2 separate regions of the Homo sapiens genome follow, and region 1 is linked to region 2. Evidence: promoter capture Hi-C in 16 types of primary human blood cells and fetal thymus (Javierre and others, 2016). All regions are on one chromosome and are shown on one strand. The core of a region is centred on a gene start or on the middle of the fragment in contact, and the rest is flanking DNA. Distances in the headings are between cores, read along the strand shown. Region 1 holds the start of TEDDM1 (transmembrane epididymal protein 1). Region 2 holds the start of ARPC5 (actin related protein 2/3 complex subunit 5).

Region 1 (3,988 bases), core at 384-2,883, 1.2 Mb before region 2:
CACTTTTCTTTATCAAGATGAGATTTGAATGGGTCCAGTTTTGAGTTGTGAGAAGTCTTTATTCCCTCAGGTAAAAGGCAATCCCTTGTGCCTGATGACGCTAATGACAGCATAACTGCTAGACTCTGTTCTCCTCCCTTCACAGCTCTTCCTTTTGTTGCATTCTCTTCCCCCAGTGGCTTTTCTTGCACACTAAGAAGAAGTGTTCTCCTCGTCCTTTTCCCTCCCTCCCGCAAATCCCATCAGCGTCTCTTTCTCAATCCCTCTCCCCTTATCTTCTCAGTAATTAGAGGCTCAGGGACAGAAAATGCACCAGCACGGGCATGGTGGCAGGCTCCTGTAATTGCAGCTACTCGGGAGGCTGAGGCAGGAGAATCGCTTGAACTCGGGAGGCGGAGGTTGCACTGAGCTGAGATTGTGCCATTGCACTCCAGGCTGGGCAACAGAGCGAGACTCTGTCTCAAAAAAAAAAAAAAAGAAAAGAGAAGAAAAGAAAATGAACCAGCAGACGGGACCAACTGCTAGCCTTCAAGGCCATTACCTTTACCAAGGAGGGTACCATGCTCGTGGCTGAGGAGCCAACAGGAGGAAGATGAGGTGGACGATGTGCCAGCCACTGTAGGCCCTGTCTCAGGGGGAGCTCTTTGGAAGGAGGAGAGCCTGGTCCTCTTTCTCTGACTGCTCCACTTCCTGTAGCAACTTGTAGAGGGGTCCTGGAGTGCTTGCATAATATGGAGCTTCTTTGGGCCCAGTCAGCTTCAAGCTGGGTCTGAAACAATGATACCAAAAGGAAGAGAAGCCATAGATTCCCAACAGGAATGAGGCATTGATCATCACATGCCAGCAGAAGAAGGTGGTGACAAACATGATGTCACTGATGTCATCGTCCTGCCATGGGTAGCCAGAGACGGGTCTGTATAGAATAAAGCCTGCCTGCATCAGCCAGGAGCCCATCATCAGAATCAGAAAGGTCTCCATCAGCTGGAGATGACACATGTTGGGAGCCCACAGCTCTGCAGTCAACACCAGCAACAGCAGGAACACCACCAAGATGAGCAGAGAATAAACGTGCAGCTCCACCCCTTCTGAATCTTTAACATGTGACACCATCAGCAGCAGGAGCTCGTAGATGATCAGGACCAGGGTACCTTTTTCTAGGCCCACACACCTCTGAGGCAGCACATTCTTGCTCATGAAGTCCACACAGCCATTAAGAGTGAGGAGGATGAACATGGTGAGGTGCTGCCACTCTTTGGGGTACATGAACCTTGATGGCACTTGCTTCCTCATGAGCACCATCCCGCCATCAAGACAGAGAACCACATAAAATGTTAAGAGGGAGCCAGTCACTATCTTTAGTAATCCTCCATAGGCTATTTTCCACAGCCTGGCACATCTTTGCTTATTCCTGGGAGAGCACAAAGGATACAGGAGACAACCTTTGAGTATCATGCCCTTGGAGACCACTGTGGCCTGATATAGTCCATAAGAGAAAAGAAATAGCCCCAGTTAAAAATGGCCAATGGACTTTCCCATGGAATACAGGCCTGTCCGACTGAAGCGTGAAGAGCAATACTCAGGACCTCTCTGCTCTCCTCTCCCTCACAGGCCTCTCGAGTTCTGGGCCTATATATACAGAGCTAAGTTCTACCTACTTTTATCATCTCCTTCTGCCCACTGCTCTCTCACAGACTGGAAAGTTCTGGACAGGAGCCTAGGTTTTTAGTGAGGTGGGTCTCATTGTTCCATTTCATTCCAGTACACTGGGAACTAATTGAGTTCTGCCAAAGTAGAAACATAAATATTTTTTAGTATGCACCTGTGGGAATTTGTGCTCTCAGGAGCTCTGCTTTTGGACCCTTGAGGACCTTCTGGTTACACTTGTCCCTCTCTCTCATGGCTTGCTTCCTTCTGCCCCTGTTCAATGCTCGGAGTAGAAAAAGAGAGGTGCCTGAGCACGGAGATTATCCAGAGAAGACCCGGGTTACTCACAAACCTTAATGCATCCTTTAAGACTCCTTACTCGGACAGGCATGGTGGCTCAAGCCTGTAATCCCAGCACTTTGGGAGGCCAAGGCAGATCTCGAGGTCAGGAGTTCGAGATCAGCCTGGCCAACATGGTGAAATCCCATCTCCACTAAAAATACAAAAACTAGCTGGGCATGGTAAAGAGTGCCTGTAATCCCAGCCACTTGGAAGGCTGAGGCAGGAGAATTACTTGAACCCGGGAGGCGGATGTTGCAGTGGGCCAGGATCATCTCACTACACTCCAGCCTGGGTGACAGAGCGAGACTGTCTCAAAAAAAAAAAAGACTCCTTACTCATATGTTGGGTCATATACTGAGAGCAAATACATTCTTCCTAGACATAAAAGTTTATAAACGTTTGGATGTGTGCTCATATATATAGATACTGAGCTCTTGTCCTCTTCATTCTTCTGTAACAGTTTTTGGGGATCACAAAGAAAGCAGCTCAATTGCCCCAAATTATCTTTCCAAAGAACAGTAGATGAATGTAAAATGTCACCTTTTGAGATCAATTTTGGAATGTTAAGGTATAATTTTTTATTAAAATGCAGATATGTTGAGATAAGTAGATCCAACAAACTGCTTATATTTTAATGTGAATTAGGTCCTCAACTTTATTCTCTCTTTAATTATCATTTACTATGTGTCTAACACATATAGGCAGAAAGAGTTCTAAGCACTAGGTAGCAGCCAGCTGCATATGAGGGGTTGCATCCAAGGCAAGAGTCTTCATTTATTTATTTTTATTTCTATTTTTATTTTTATTTTTAGACAGTGTCTCGCTTTGTTGCCCAGGTTGCAGTGCAGTGGCTTGATGACGGCTCACTGCAGCCTCAACCTCCTGAGCTCAATCAATCCTCCTGCCTCAGCTGCTGAGTAGCTGGGACAACAGACATGAGCCACCACATCCAGCTATTTTTTGTAGAGATGAGGTCTCACTACATTGTCCATGCTGGGTCTCAAACTCCTGGGCTCAAGTGATCCACCCACCTCAGCCTCCCAAAGTACTGGGATTACAGGCGTGAGCCACCGTACCTGGCCCCATTTATTTATTTATTCATTATTTTTTATTTTTTAAAATGAAAGCACATTTATTAAGAAAAAAAGGAATAAAAGAATGGCTACTCTATAGGCAAAGCAGCCCCCATTTATTTTTTTTATAAAAATTAATGTCTATATAGCCCCTCCTTATCCATGGGTGATACTTTCTAAGACTCCCAGTGGATGCCTGAAACCTGGGATAGGTTAGTACTGAACCCTACATATACTGGTTTCCCCATACATGTATACATACCTATAATAAAGTTTAGTTTACAAATTAGGCACAGCAAGAGATTAGCAATAATAACTCAAAATAAAATAGAACAATTATAAAATGATGCTGAAATAAAAGTGTGAATATAATTTCTCTCTCTCTCTCTCAAAATACTATAATATTTTCAGACTGCAGTTAACTGTGAGTAACTGAAACCTAAGAACATGAAACTGCAGGTAAGGGAGGACTACTGTATTTAAAGTGTACCACATTTTTTGTTTGTTTGTTTTTTGTTTTGAGACTGAGTCTGTCTCTGTTGCCCAGGCTGGAGTGCAGTGGCACGATCTCAGCTCACTGCAACCTCTGCCTGCTGGGTTCAAGCAATTCTCCGGACTCAGCCTCCCGAATAGTCGGGACTACAGGTGCATGCCACCACACCGCTTAAATTTTCTATATTTTTAGTAGAGATGGGGTTTCACCATGTTGGTCAGGCCGGTCTCGAACTCCTGACCTCAGGCGATCCACCCACCTTGGCCTCTCAAAGTGCTGGGATTACAGCCATGAGCCACCATGCCCAGCTGAGGTTCATCCATATTGTTGCAAACAGCAGGACCTCCTTCTTTTTTAAGGCTGAATAATATACCATTATATATATGTTTCTTTACTTATCCATCTGTTGGTGGATCCATCTGGGCTCAAGTGATCC
Region 2 (3,514 bases), core at 739-3,238:
ACCTATTAAATTCAGGCTCTCTTTGAAAGCACTAGTGAGTTAGCAAGCATGAGAAACAGAAGGCCAATCAGACTGTCAGAATGTACAAACATTCCCCTAAAAGGAAAACCACAGAGTTCACTTGTTCCTCCAACTCTAGTACCCCACCACTAGGGCTGTCTTTCCTGGCTGTATGTAACGGTAAGAAGAGACAGTATCTTTATATTTTAAGATGAACTGATCAAAAAGCAGATCCACTGATATGGATACAGCAGTACCATTTAAAAGTCACCACAAATTACCTAAAATACACTGGGGTTTCATAAAACACCATCTATCCATCACAAATAATGTTTTTAGGAAGCATGTTCACCATTTATTTTCTAAAGAAAAAGTTCTTACACAAAATCTCTGGTTGACAAGCTGTTATTTTCAAGGCTGCAGGGATTTCTAGAGAAGCATGCCTGATGTAGATTAGCTCATTTTTTATAACTCCAAGCACTTAAGTATTTAAATAATGCAAAAGAGCAACAGCTAATTAATTGTGAAAGTTGTGGCAAAGCACTATCTATATATTGATAAATGTCTAATGCTCTATTTAGGTGCCTTTAAAAAAGGATATTGTTGCCATTAAATATTTTCACTCTCATATTTCCCCACTATAACAGGACATTGTTGAGAGTCTTCCTTATGAATACACCCAAGAATTAGAAATGCATACAAATTCAGTGTCTGAGATTTTCTAAAACTACAGCTTCGGTTTTTTTGCAACATTTACATTTTTCTAAAAAAGATGTAATGCAAATGCGAAGCCAAAGTTATGAATATTCAAATATGCAAAAACAGAAACCGGGAACTGACTGCCATATTTTAACTAAAATGGAAACAATTTTAGGATTACAAAAATGATTCTGCTTTATACGAATGACTCATCTTCTATCTTATTCATTGGGGTTTATTTTAAATATTTCCAAGGATTCTCCACACGCATTCCCCGTTGTTTTTTCTATTGTCCTTTTCTTAGCAGGTAAAAGGCTCCAAGCTTCCTTCTAGGAGTTTTGTATTTTTTGTATTCATTCCCCTCCCCCAGTTAACAAATTCTGTACAATGTATATTTTGCCAAATCCCCTTCTTCTTCTTCTTTTTTTTTTTTTTTTAAAAAGGCCAATGGGCTGAAAGCACAGGGACCCTCAATTTTCGAACAGTCCCATCTCCCCCCGCCCCCCGGTAAGGAATAAACTACCTTAACGCTACCAATAACAAAAACACAACAAAAAACAAAACCACTAAGGAAAGATGCAGGTTCCCCACAATCAGAAATTTCTGGAGCTAATGTGACCCCAGGAAATCAGAGTTCTAGGAAGAAAAACTAAGGCGCTCGGCACCAGCCTTCCCCACCAGCCGGGGCCGCCTTCCCCAGCGCCGCGAGGGCGCGGCCGGCGGGACCAGTTCCCGAGGCAGGCAGGCACTCGGGTGCAACCTGAGGAATCTGGGGGCGTGGAAGGCGCGCGGGGGAGGGCAGGCTTCCAAGAGTGGGACCCTCGCGTCTCCTGCCGACTGGGTAGGAAACGGGGGCTTCCCCCTTGCCCTCTCAGAGCGGGCGATCCCAAAGAGACAGGTTAAGCCGCAGGTTGAGAGGGCAGCTCCGCGCCGGTGCCCCGCGGATCCTGCAGGCTCCCGGGTCCCAGGAGAAGGGCGGGCTGGGCTGGGCTGGGGTGGGGAGGGCGGTGAATGCAAGGATATTGCCGCAGGCAGGAGTCCACCTCGCCCTCGTCGGGCCCGGCCTGGCCGTCGCCCCCATCTTCTTCGTCCACGAACTTGTTCTCGTCATATTCATCCACGTCCACCTTCCGGAAGCGGGCCGACGACACTGTGTTCTTCGACATCCCAATCCCGACCAGCGGCAAAGGCCTCTTCTTGGCGCTGCCTCTACCTCAGCAAGCCCAGCCCAGCAACCCACTACCCGGCGCCTGATTCACTTCCCTCTTCCGCTCTGAGGCGTCGCCGACTGCCGCGGCTCGGACCGTTCTGGGCCTGCGCGCTAGCCCCGTTTCTTCCTCCTCAGGTTCGCGCTCCCTTGGCGCCTCCCACGCTGCCCCTGCTCTTCCACGGAGAGCGCGCGCGAGGGAAGGAGCGCGCAGGACACAGCGCGCAGGCGCGGGCTCTCCGCAGGCAAGGGGCGGGGCTGGGCGAAGGAGGCGGGGGCGAGAGGGAGGGCCAAAAGCTGGACCGCGGGCAGAGGTAAGAAGCGATTGGTCGTCCGATTGCGTCACGTGATTCTCGGTGGGGGGGTTCCCATAGAAACGCTTTTCTGCGGTCCAGTCTAGGGGGTCTCAGATTGGCGGGGATGGGCAGCAGCGGCAGGTGGCCTTGGCTTTTGCTGCAGCCGTCAACGACCTATCATCGGGGTCCTGCGTAAGGTCCGGCTGGCTGGGACTTGGCTGTGGGTGGGATGGACTGGCTGCCGGACCGAGTGCCCTGCAGTTGGTAGGAGTATGAGGCAGAGTGATGCACACCCGGGCGCCCAGCATCGTTCTAATTGCCGGAGACATTGCCTCAGACTGTGCGCTGCTAGAGGCTGCGTTCCTGAGCAGGAAGCCCGTTTCCTGGGATTGGAACTACCCTTCTTGGCCAGCGGGAAGTCCCCAAGGACGGAGTCGAAAGGTCAAATCTTATCTGTCAGTGCTGTGTGACAGCATCGCAACGGGATCTGCAGAACCTGAACTCGGTATCAAATCTATTGGGAGGGAGGGGAACGTGTCCGGGCAGGCGCTGGGGTCGGGTGGCAAAACTGGGGTGAATTTGTAGAATTTGGGAAAGGGTCATTGACATCTTAAAATAGGTGGTCGTTTGGAGCAAGAATGCTCGAAAGGGGTGAGGGTAGGTTAGGCTCTCTAGTGCTGGGGGAAAACAAAATGTGGAAGGATTGGTGGAAACCAGACCTTTAAGATTTATATTATGATTTGAGATTTATATGATTCCATCTAGGCCAGATTTAAAAAAATATTTGACATCCCCATTTCTGGAATGTAGGAGATAAAGGCACTAAGACGAAGGAAATGGTAGTTGTGCTGTGTGTATTACACTGAAGAACAAATATTTGCAGGATAAAATTAATTTGGACATTTGGCTGGACACTGCTCGGTATGGGTCCAGTTTAGTTGGACCTCGAGCAGAAGACTGGCTGTTGCCCTGTTGTGTACCACAATCTTTGGTTTCCAGTGCTGTGTTGAAAAGAGCACTAGGCTTAGAATCAGAAAACTCAGGCTTAAGTGTTGACTCTTCCACTCATAATGTTTGAACGAGACATGTCACTTAAAATTCTGTCTCAGATTCCTCATCACTGAAATGGAGCTAATAATGTGCACTTTACAAGATTGTTCTTAGGATTATATATCACGAAAGTGTTTCCAAGCTCTAAAATTCTACATAAATGTAAAATGCATGTTGCTTGTACCATTGGTTTTGGGACTAGTCTTATAAATTTCTTAATGATATATGGTGTTTTATCTCCTTCCTAGAAGAGATGGAAAGA

Evidence for each region. Contacts are between HindIII fragments. The CHiCAGO score rates a contact against its expected background, and 5 or more counts as called.
Region 1: a contact is called between the fragment with the promoter of TEDDM1 here and the fragment with the promoter of ARPC5 in region 2, in 1 of 17 cell types (neutrophils). The highest score is 5.2, in neutrophils.

The regions. Positions count from the first base shown.
Region 1 is chr1:182,399,034-182,403,021 of GRCh38, forward strand. TEDDM1 (transmembrane epididymal protein 1) reads right to left here and starts at 1,634. Exons shown (of 1, transcript NM_172000.4): 1 at 1-1,634. The coding sequence starts at 1,452. The coding sequence ends at 631. The HindIII fragment of the contact is 8,350 bases long and covers 1-3,988 here.
Region 2 is chr1:183,633,795-183,637,308 of GRCh38, forward strand. It overlaps ARPC5 (actin related protein 2/3 complex subunit 5), which reads right to left and starts at 1,989. Exons shown (of 4, transcript NM_005717.4): 1 at 1,723-1,989. The coding sequence starts at 1,865. It also overlaps a transcript of RGL1 not described here. RefSeq lists enhancers at 1,185-1,685, 1,683-1,962 and silencers at 1,273-1,491, 1,443-1,502, 1,583-1,632, 2,113-2,272. The HindIII fragment of the contact is 3,712 bases long and covers 1,020-3,514 here.